Regions from separate parts of the Homo sapiens genome. Here region 2 is linked to region 1. The links are contacts of gene promoters, found by promoter capture Hi-C in human tissues and cell types (Jung and others, 2019). All regions are on one chromosome and are shown on one strand. The core of a region is centred on a gene start or on the middle of the fragment in contact, and the rest is flanking DNA. Distances in the headings are between cores, read along the strand shown. Region 1 holds the start of RAPGEFL1 (Rap guanine nucleotide exchange factor like 1). Region 2 has its middle 6.4 kb from the start of GSDMA.

What was found. Contacts are between HindIII fragments. The study calls those that stand out against the background at their distance.
Region 2: a fragment that was not itself captured here is called in contact with the fragment with the promoter of RAPGEFL1 in region 1 in 1 of the 25 tissues and cell types used here (adrenal gland).

What each region holds. Positions count from the first base shown.
Region 1 is chr17:40,173,944-40,179,712 of GRCh38, forward strand. RAPGEFL1 (Rap guanine nucleotide exchange factor like 1) reads left to right here and starts at 3,527. Exons shown (of 15, transcript NM_016339.6): 1 at 3,527-4,438. The coding sequence starts at 3,919. RefSeq lists enhancers at 2,406-2,906, 2,907-3,407, 3,799-4,655, 4,656-5,510 and a silencer at 3,439-3,568. The HindIII fragment of the contact is 8,651 bases long and covers 2,256-5,769 here.
Region 2 is chr17:39,953,764-39,959,344 of GRCh38, forward strand. No RefSeq gene overlaps it. Among named protein-coding and RNA genes, the nearest start is that of GSDMA, 6.4 kb to the right of the region's middle. The HindIII fragment of the contact is 4,228 bases long and covers 599-4,826 here.

The DNA of each region.
Region 1 (5,769 bases), core at 2,277-4,776:
CTCTCAAGTAGCTGAAACCACAAGCATGCACCACCACACCTAGCTAATTTATTTTTGTAGAGATAGGGTCATTGAATTCCTGGGCTCAAGTGATCCCGCTGTCTGGGCTTCCCAAAGTGCTGGGATTACAGGCTTGAGCTGCTGTGCCCAACTATTGTACATCTTATAAAGACAGATGGGACTTCCCCCATATCTTGGTGCTGGTGCCACAGCCAGAGGACTGTGACTTTTCTGAGCCCCGTCCCTAATTCCTTTTTTTTTTTTAGACTGAGTCTCACTCTGTCGCCCAGGCTGGAGTGCAGTGGCACGATCTCGGCTCACCACAACCTCCACCTCCCGGGTTTAAGCGATTCTCCTGCCTCAGCCTCCCAAGTAGCTGGGGTTTACAGGCGCCCGCCACCATGCCCCACTACTTTTTTTCTGTATTTTTAGTAGAGATGGGGTTTCACCATGTTGGCCAGGCTGGTCTCAAATTCCTGGCCTCAGGTGATTGGCTCAGCTTGGCCTCCCAAAGTTCTGGGATTACAGGCGTGAGCCACCACGCTGGGCCCCTAATTCCTCTTTAAATCATGTCAGTTTGCTTCTCTTCCCCACAATGTGATGGGTGACTGTAGGCCTGATCTCCTGGGGTTATGAAAAAATGCCATCCAGCCTTGGGGGTGGGTTACTGGCAGGAGGTTTGAGTGTTGGATGCTTCCCCTTTACCCTTGCCTCTTGCTTCCCTAGTCCTTCAGTTAGACCCTATTGCTCTCTCTGTTGCCCTGGTAACCAGCTCTGCAAGAAGAAACTCAAGCTCAGCAAAGCCCCCAGGTTCTCTCTATCCTCCCAGCCTGCCTCTGGGTGGGCAGAAAGAAGAGGGTGTGTAAGCAGCAGACAGATAGCCTGAGGTGGCCCTGCCCAGTCCCCTTGTAGAAGCCCATGGGCTCAAAAAAAGCTCAAAGCTTTTTCGCCCCCATCTCATAGTTGTTATTCATACCACCCTGCCTTCCTCTTTATTTCTTCCATAAGCGGGTGCAAATGCTCTGCCAGCTCTCTTCCCCTTCAGGGTCAGCGCACAGACCTGCTACCTTGTAGGCAACTCGGAGCACCAAAGACTTGGAATTCCAAAGTCAGCTCCCAGCATCTGCAGCCCACTTGGGTTGACTGTCCGTCTAGGGCAGTGATTTTCAATCCTGGCCATTTGTGTCATGTGAGGAGCTTTTTAAAAAATACCATAAGCCTTCGCCCTGGTTCAGAAATCTGATTTAATTGGTCTGAGATATGGCCTAGGCATCAGTTTTTTTTTTGTTTGTTTGTTTTTTTTTTTTTTGAGACAGTCTTGCTCTTGTTGCCCAGGCTGGAGTGCAGTGGCATGATCTCGGCTCACTGCAGCCTCCACCTCCCGGGTTCAAGCGATTCTCCTGCCTCAGCCTCCTGAGTAGCTGAGATTACAGGCACCAGCCACCATGCCCAGCAAATGTTTGTATTTTTAGTAGAGACAGGGTTTCACTATGTTGGCCAGACTGGTCTCGAACTTCTGACCTCATGTTGCACCCTTCTCGGCCTCCCAAAGTACCGGGATTATAGGCGTGAGCTGTTGCACTTGGCCAGTATTTTTTTTTTTTTTTTAATATGGAGTCTCTCACCCAGGCTGGAGTGCAGTGGCATGATAACAGCTCACTGCAACCTTCACCTCCCAGGTTCAAGCAATCCTTCTACCTCAGCCTCCAAAGTAGCTTGGATTACAGGTGTGTGCCACCATGCCCGGCTAATTTTTTTTGTATTTTTAGAAGTGGGGTTTCACCATGTTGGTCAGGCTGGTCTTGAACTCATGACCTCAAGTGATCTGCCCGCCTTGGCTTCCCAAAGTGTTGAGATTACAGGCGTGAGCCACCAAGCCCAGCCAGCATCAGTATTTCTGAGAAGCTTCCCTGTGATTCCAGTGTGTAGTCAGGGTGAAAACCACTGCCACTCCAGGAGGACCATGACTTGATGCTGGCTCTCCTCACTGATTCAAAATGTTGAACTTAGTCTCTGCCTGACATCCTTGAGCATTTGGGGGAGTACTGGGGTCCTGTGTCCCAAGCTTCTAGCTTCCAGAAGTCTCTCAGTCTGTTTTATTTTCAACCCCCTACACCCTTCACACTCCCCAATTCGCCCTTCCTAACCAACAATTCCCAAATCCTGCCCAGAGAGAAGGTTACCAAGGCAACCGGCTTAATCTGGTAACTGTGGCATGTGCTGGGAGAGAAGCCCTTCCCTCTTCCTATTCAGTTCATAAAATGCTACCTGGGGAGCTCCAACCCATTCCAGCCACTTTCCCCTTTCAAGCCAGGGGATATTGGAGTGTCCAATAAGGGGAGCACAGGAAGCTGATACTCAGACCTCTAATACAGCTTCTTAGCCAAAATTGTGCGCTGTCTTCTTTTTACTGTTTCCAAATCCACAAACAGATGGGTGTGCAAAGCTTTATTTCTGTGAACACATGCTCTAGCACACATGGGAACAGATATGCACATACATTGATACGTATGTCATACACACCCTGTTCAGTTTTACTACCACTCCCAGCCATTAGCATTCCTGTCTCTGCCTGGTTGGTGCTCGGTAAACAGGGGTGGGGCATTGTCCAGAGAGCCTCAACCCATCGAGAACCTGCTGCCACTCCCACACCTTGTAAGTCTAACCTGGATGTTCTCACACTTAGCATGGCTTTACGATGCACCCCCCTCCTCCCCCACACTCCTTCTGGGGCAGCATATCCTTAAGGACAGAATGCTCCTGGTGTGGGCATCAGGAGTAAGGATTACTTGGAGTGCTAATTGGCACCACTTTTCCCACTCCATGGCCATGTACACTTGGGCTCTGTGCTTGATGATAGTCGGCAGTTCTGGGGCTTGTCACCTGTCTCCATGGCCCTGCTTCCTTCTGCTGCCAGCTGGGCTCAGGTGCCCTTGTGCTCCTGGTCTCCTCCCCACTGCCTATTATCCCCTCCTCACCCCAGCTAGACCTGCCACAACCTGCTGCTCCCTGCCTGGCTCCTACCTGCCTGCCAGTACCTGCCCACAGACCAGGCCCACACCACCTATTGTGCCCTACCAGAGAGGACAGATGGGCACCGCCTCCAGTGGCAATGCTAATTCACCCAAGAGGCCTTCCCAGCTCTTCTCACAGAAGGAAGATAAACTCCACATATTTCTGTGAGTATGAGAAAGGTGCACACTCTTGGGTTCAGCAATCTGTAGGCCTGACTTGGGTACACAGGTAGGTGAGTGAAGGTGTCCAGGCCACAGACCTGTCCTGACTCTTTGAAATGATGCTGAGACCCGGTTATCCCTTGAGCCAGGAATCCTTCCCCATTGGTAAATCTCTGACTTACCTTTGCCCTTAATTTCTTCTGCTTAGAACCCAAGTCCCTTACTGTTTCCCTCGCGGTCAACCCCAGCGCGCGAGTTCAAGCCTCGTGCGGCGCGGGGGCGAGCCGAGGAAGGGTAGGGGCGGGGACTGGGCGGGGACTGGAGGAGGGGGCGCGGTCTCGGTTCTGCCACCTTCCCCCTCTTCACGGCCAGGAGCGCAGCCGCCGCCGCCGCCGCCGCCGCGTCCTCTCAGCCTTGCGCTCCGCCCGCTGCCTCTGCCGCCGCAGCGCAGAGCCGGGCGCACCGGCCCCGCAGCCTGCCCACTCTTCGGGCCGCGTGCCGGCTGCAGCCGGCATGGGGGGTTGCTGAGAGCGAGCACTCCTTTCCTCTGGCACCTCCCCCGGCTACTGGCCACTGGACTCTGGCCAGCGAGGCTCGGCCCCTCTGGCCCCCAGTCTGGCGCCTGGCACGGCCCTCTACTCTGCTCCTCCAGCTCTGAGCATCGTGTCTTCGCCGCCCCCCCCGCCCGCGCCTGGGATACCTGGGTCCCCCGGCGACCCCTAGGAGAGGGGCGGGGGGGGGCATGAAGCCGCTGGAGAAATTTCTGAAGAAGCAGACGTCGCAGCTGGCGGGCCGAACGGTGGCGGGAGGTCCCGGCGGGGGTCTGGGGAGCTGCGGTGGGCCTGGAGGGGGTGGGGGACCCGGCGGGGGCGGCGGTCCAGCCGGGGGACAGCGGTCGTTGCAGCGGCGTCAGAGCGTGTCTCGCCTGCTGCTCCCCGCTTTCCTCCGGGAGCCCCCCGCCGAGCCGGGGCTGGAGCCGCCCCCTGAGGAGGAAGGAGGAGAGCCGGCGGGGGTCGCGGAGGAGCCGGGCAGCGGGGGGCCCTGCTGGCTGCAGCTGGAGGAGGTGCCGGGGCCCGGGCCTCTCGGGGGAGGGGGGCCCCTGCGCTCCCCTTCCTCCTACTCATCTGACGAGCTGTCCCCAGGCGAGCCCTTGACTTCGCCGCCCTGGGCCCCTCTGGGCGCCCCCGAGCGGCCCGAGCATCTTCTGAACCGGGTTCTGGAGCGGCTTGCTGGAGGGGCTACCAGGGACAGCGCCGCCTCAGGTAAGGAGCCGGTGGGCTCGAACACCCAGAGCAGGGGCTGGCCCCGGCTCCTCTTCCTTGCCCTTGGAGCGTAGGGGTGGCGCCGTGCCGGGGCTTGGTTATAGGGTTGAGTGGTCCGCGGAAGCCGGCTAGGGGCCTAGCGGAGGTACAGACCCTCCCGCGGAAGAGGAGAGCAGTACTCACCTTCCTCCCTACAGCAGCCTCACCCTCGTCTGGAGAAGCAGCTGAGCCTCTTACTCTCCTTCAGCCACCCTTCCTTTCCCCTGGGCATTGGAGCCACTGACTCCCATGGGTCCCTGATGTTGAATACCTCCTCCTGTGGCCCCAAATTAGGGCCTGACACATTAAAATGGGAGCTGCCCAGCGCAGCCATGCCACCCGCCAGAGGTGCTTTAGCCCTGAAAACCCTGGGGTCCCTGACTGTTCAGAGGCCTACACAGCGCAGGCTGACCCACCCAGGGAGGCAGTGCCAGACAGGCACAGGCCCCAAGCTGCCTTTTAGGCATCAGCAAAGGGATGCGTTGTCCTTAGCAGTTTGGTGGGGGGGATAGTATTCTCCTTGGGCTGGACTCAGAAGGTGTCTGGGAGGGGAGAGGTGGCTGGGCCGGCATCATGGCCCTGCAGCATCCAGGGTGTCCAAGCGCCTCCAGCTTCCACCCTTCGGTGGCAGGCCTCAGCACCCGGCTTTTTTTTTTTTTTCTTTTGGAGATGTAGTCTCACTGTCACCCAGGCTGGAGTGCAGTGGCGCCATCTCAGCTCACTGCAACCTCCACCGCCCAGGTTCAAGCGATTCTCCTGCCTCAGCCTCCTGAGTAGCTGGGACTACAGGCATGTGGCACCACGCCTGGCTAATTTTTGTATTTTTAGTAGAGACAGGGGTTTCACCGTGTTAGCCAGGATGGTCTCGAACTCCTGACCTCGTGATCCACCTGCCTTGGCCTCCCAAAGTGCTGGGATTACAGGCGTGAGCCACTGGCCTGGCTAATTTTTGTAGTTTTAGTAGAGACGGGGTTTCGGGGTTTCACCAACTTGGTCAGGCTGGTCTTGAACTCCTGACCTCGTTATCTACCTCCCCCCACCCCCACCCCACGGCCTCCCAAAGTGCTGGGATTACAGGCGTGAGCCACCGGACCTGGCACACGGCCTCTTTAAAATATAATCACCACACCCTGAGAAGCTTATTCCCTAAATGATGATACTATTTCACCACTCCCTTTCAGCACCCCTACTAAGGGGCCTTTGAGGAAACCAAGGCCCCAAATCTGGTTAGTTCTGAGGTAGAAGACCGAGGGTTCTTTAGGTCTAGCTCTAGGCATTACTCTAAGCCCAGG
Region 2 (5,581 bases), core at 1,463-3,962, 220 kb before region 1:
GCTGCGGGACTGCAGGAGACTTCCAGCAACCTCAGCTCCATGTTGGAGGAACATTCTGTACCTGCTGGGTGCTCTGTGTGGTGAGGGTCAGGGATGAGGGTGAGGGCCATCCCTGATGTACCAGGCCTACTAGGTTAGGCCCAATGGTACCAAGCAAGACCTACCACAAAAGTTAAGGGTCCCAGTGCAAAATGAAAATGCAGGACTCCTTGCTACAAAAGTTATTAAGAATTATATTTGGCCAGACGTGGTGGCTCACGCCTGTAATCCCAGCACTTTGGGAGGCCAAGGTGGGGGCCAATCACCTGAGGTCAGGGGTTCGAGACCAGCCTGGCCAACATGGTGAAACCCCCGTCTCTACTAAAGATACAAATTTAGCCAGGTGTTGTGGCACATGCCTATAATCCCAGCTACTTGGGAGGCTGAGGCAGGAGAATCGCTCGAACATGGGAGGCGGAGTTTGCAGTGAGCTGAGACCTCGCCATTGCACTCCAGCCTGGGCAACAAGAGCAAAACTCAAAAAAAAAAAAAATTATATTCAAGACAGTAGCAGCAGAGCATTAAACGAAGCATGGGGCTGTGTGCAACTGCACAGGTTGCATGCCCATGAAGCCAGCCCTGATACCAAGCTACAAGCAGAGTGGGCAGGGTGCAGACCCTATTGTCCCTTCCTCCAAGGAAAAGGCAAGAGGGGCAAGCCCACCTACCATCCCTACGCCAGCTCATTTTTCCCAAAAGGGGAAAAGGGAACATACCATTCCAGGAATCTCCTCTCATCCTCTCCTGGAGGAGAAAAAATGAATCTGCCGCCCACTTCCCCTCCACGGACACACATGGGAGCTAACCCCAGTTCCCAGAGCCACTTTTTTTTTTTTTTTTTTTTTTTGGAGACGGAGTCTCTCTCTGTTGCCCAGGCTGGAGTACAGCAGTGGGATCTCAGCTCACTGCAACCTCTGCCTCCCAGGTTCAAGCAATTCTCCTGCCTCAGCCTCCCGAGTAGCTGGGATTACAGGCATGTACCACCACACCCAGCTAATTTGTGTATTTTTAGTAGATGGGATTTCCCCATCACGGCCAGGTTGGTCTCAAACTCCTGACCTCAAGTGATCCGCTCCCCTCAGCTTCCCAAAGTGCTGGGATTACAGGTGTGAACCACCACACCCGGCCCCCAGAGCCACTTTACAATGCCCTGCCCACAGAAGGAGGGAGAGCATGCCGTGTCCCTCATGCCCTTTCCTCTCCTTTACCCTCTGCAGAGCTGAGTGAGGTGCAACAGCAGCTGCTGGCCATGTCCAGGGAGAAGGGGATCCTTTCCCAATAGGTGGAGCTGGAGAGGGACCTGGGGGATGACAACGAGGAGAAAATTGAGTTTGAGCTCATCCAGCTCCACCCCCACACTTGTGGATGGGCAGTCTGAGGCCCAGAGAGCACACAAGACTTTAGGGCCACACAGCAGGCTCTTAGCAGAACTCTCTACAGAACTTAGGTCTCCGGATTCTTAATCCTTGCCCATCTCTGCTTCACTCTAGCATTAACAGACAGAGGGGGGATCAAGGATGGGGACTGTAATAAAATAGCTTGTTGAATAGCAAGAGAGGCTGGGTGCGGTGGCTCACACCTACAATCCCAGAACTTTGGGAGGCCGAGGCAGGAGGATTGCTTGAGGCCAAGAGTTCCACACCAGCTTGGGCAACATAGCCAGACCCCATCTCTATTTAATATAGGAAATAATAAAAAATAAAAAGTAAAAGAATGGCAGTGTGATGCCACCTTGAAGCAAAACTGCCATGGTGACTGGTATTGGATTCCTGATTCTGGCAGCAAAGTCCTTAAACAATGCCTGTAGCATAGATAACCCCTGTATTAGTCCATTCTCACACTGCTGTGAAGAAATACCTGAGACTGGGTAATTTATAAGGGAAAGACATTTAATTGACTCACAGTTCCACATTGCTGGGGAGGCCTCAGGAAACTTAAAATTATGGCGGAAAGGAAAAGAGAAGAAGACACCTTCACAGAGCAGCAGGACAGAGTGAATGCAAGCAGGGGAAATGCCAGATACTTATAAAACCATCAGATCTCATGAGACTCACTCATGATCATGAAAACAGCATAGGGGTAACCACCCCCATCACTCAATTACCTCCACCCGGTCCCACCCCCAACACATGGGGATTATGGTGATTATAATTCAAGATAAGATTTTGGGTGGGGGACACAGCGAAACCATACCAACCCGTCATAAAGCAACAATGCCTGTAACACAGATAATCCCTCATATAGATGTGTATCTAACCTCCCCAGTGGCCATGACTTTTGCAAGACAGTCTGAGCCATGACTGGCTGCACCTGTTTCACTCTAAAGGCTTGTTATAGAAAAGATATTTTCTGGACAGCAGGTGTGGGGAACCACTTTTGTTCATAAGTCCCTATTAAATGTTTCTTTCTAAGAAGCTGGATTTGTCAGCCTCTTTCTTTCTTTCTTTCTTTTCTTTCCTTTCTTTCCTTTCTTTCTTTCTTTCTTTCTTCTTTCTTTTTCTGAGACGAAGTCTCGCTGTTGTCCCCCAGGCTGGAGTACAATGGCGTGATCTCGGCTCACTGCAACTCCGCCTCCTGGGTTCAAGCGATTCTCCTACCTCAGCCTCCCAAATAGCTGGGATTACAGGCGTCTGCCACCACGCCCAGCTAATTTTTGTATTTTTAGTAGAGATGGGAGTTCACTATGCTGGCCAGGCTGGTCTCAAACTCCTGACCTCAAATAATCCGCCCGCCTCGGCCTCCCAAAGTGCTGGAATTACAGGCGTGAGCTACCACGTCTGGCCTGTCAGTCTCCTTCTTTGGCCTTTCGATTCCCTTGGCCTTTGGGGGTAGGTTTGCAGATATCTGCTCACTGCAGAACAGCGACAGGGGCTGAAATTTAAATTTTTACTGAAAATTAAAATTTAAAATTTTACTGCAGGCCAGGCATGGTGGCTCACACCTGTAATCCCAGCACTTAGGGAGGCCAAGGCAGACAGATCACCTGAGGTCAGGAGTTCGAGACCCATCTGGCCAACCTGGTGAAACCCCATCTCTACTAAAAATACAAAAATTAGCTGGGCATGGTGGTATGTTCCTGTACATACAGCTACTTGTGGGGCTGAGTCAGGAGACTTGCTTGAACCTGGGAGGCAGAGGCTGCAGTGAGCCGAGATCGTGCCACTGCACTCCAGCCTGGGCGATAGAGGAAGACTCTGTCTCAAAAATAGACAGACAGACAGACAGACAGACAGACAGATAATAAAATACAATTTTACTGCAGACCACTTCTGAAGTTGGTGGCTCCCTAAATGCAAAGCATCCTGTGATGCTTTTTCTCCACTGTGCAGATGGAAACCATCCTGGACTAGAATTTCTTTCAGGGAGAGATGGAGCCCTTCTGTCTTTACTTTGAGCTGCTCAGGGGGTTCTGAGGTGAGGAGCTGAAAGTGGTCAGGCCCTGATGGGACTCTGTGGCCTTGACATATAAGGAGACCAAGGAGACAGATCCTCCTTACACCTGGGAGCCAAATGCCTTGACACTGCTCTGTGTCCTGTAAGCCAGCCTCTCCATCTTTCGGGTGCTGGCCAACAACACTTGGCTCTCCAGATATTTTATTCATCAGGGATCCCCAGCCCTGCCCGCCCATGGCTAGGGAAGGCAGGATGGGGCTTGAGGACAAGCCTAGGGGAGCTGGTGAAAATACAGAATAGTGGCCGGGCGCGGTGGCTCATGCCTATAATCCCAGCACTTTGGAAGGCCGAGGTGGGTGGATCACCTGAGGTCAGGAGTTCGAGACCAGCCTGGCCAACATGGTGAAACCCCATCTATACTGAAAATGCAACAATTATTCGGGTGTGGTGTCGCGCATCTGCAATCCCAGCTACTCGGGAGGCTGAGGCAGGAGAATCGCTTGAACCCGGGGGGCGGAGTTTGCAGTGAGCCAAGATTGGCACTCCAGCCTGAACAACAAGAGCGAAACTCAATCTCAAAAAAAAAAGAAAGAAAAAGAAAAAAAAATACAGAAAAGCTCCAACACATGCTCCCGTGCATCAGCAGGGGCTCAGGAAGAGGTGGGTTGCTGGGAGGATCACCTGACAGAAGAGAGTTCTCTGGGTTTGGGCTGGAGGCTGGCAGTGGCCTCCTTGCCCAGACAGGGCTGATGGGTAGGGGGATTGGCAGTGGAGGGGTGGGGGCAGTGAGGGCTGACACCTTGAAGCTGGATGCTGAGTTTGACACACTTAGAGCTGAACACTGATGTCTGTTCAGCCAGAGTCTGGGGAGGTCTTGGACTCCAAAGCTGATTTGGGAATTTGGGAAGAAACATTAAAGCTTTTTAGAGAATAAGGAAAGAGTATGGGAGCTTTACTCTGTTCAGAAAGGAGAATTTATGGAAGTATAGCTCACAATCTATGATCTGCACCCCCAAACATCCAACCTCCCATATGAGAGATAAAACACAGCATCCCTAGGAAGCATTATTCCTGCGCCTCCACCAGGCAGTCATGCCCCAGCCCAGCCTGTCTTCATCCCTAACCATTACCATTCCACCTCCTTTTGTTCAGGGCAGGTCTGGGAATATGTTCATGTGAGGGATCACTTCTTGCAAATGCTCCAGTTATCCTGCACCCTTCAAGTAGGCTCCAAATCCTACAACATTCTCCTTGCCCTCCCAACTCGCAGGGTGCCAGCTTCTTCCCATTCTGGCCAGAGTTTGTGACTTCCATGAACGCCCATAATCTACTTTTCTCTGTTTTCTCTGACCCCATGCTGAGGGGGAAATCAACAATAATAAAAAGGAGGCCAGGCACAGTGGATCACACCTGTAATCCCAGCAATTTGGGAGGCCAAGGTGGGTGTATCACTTGAGGCCAGGAGTTCGAGACCAGCCTGGCCAATGTGGTGAAACTTTGCCTCTACTAAAAACACAAAAAATAGCCCGGTGTGGTGGTGCGCACCTGTAGTCCCAGGTACTCGGGAGGCTGAGGCAGGAGAATCACTTGAACCTGGGAGGCGGAGGTTGCAGTGAACCGAGATTGTGCCACTGCACTCCAGCCAGCAATAGTGTGAGGCTCGGTCTCAAAAAACAACAACAAAAACAATAACAAAAGGGAAAATGAGTAAGGAAATAATGCCCTGTCCCAATGACTGTGTCTGTCTGCAGTGCACTCTATGGGTCAGAGAGACAGCAATGGTCCCACGGGGCAGGTGCCTGGGGCTTCCTCTCCTAAATCAATTCTCTCTCCTGATCCCTGTCTCCTAACAACCCTACATAGTCACAAGCTTGGTCTCTAAATCAGAGGTGATCATTGTCCATCACTACCTTAATTGACCACCAGAGGGAGGTAGAGAGCAAAGTTTACCGCCTGCCTGAGCAGCACTCACCGCATGACCAGGTCCTGCTTCCTTATTGTCTCTTTTAATTGACCTGAAGCGTCCTTACAAGGCAGTCTAACTTAAATATCCGCCAGTACAATTTAAATTCTGCCCCAGGCCGGGCGCAGTGGCTCACGCCTGTAACCCCAGCACTTTGGGAGACCGAGGCAGGAGGACTGCTTGAGC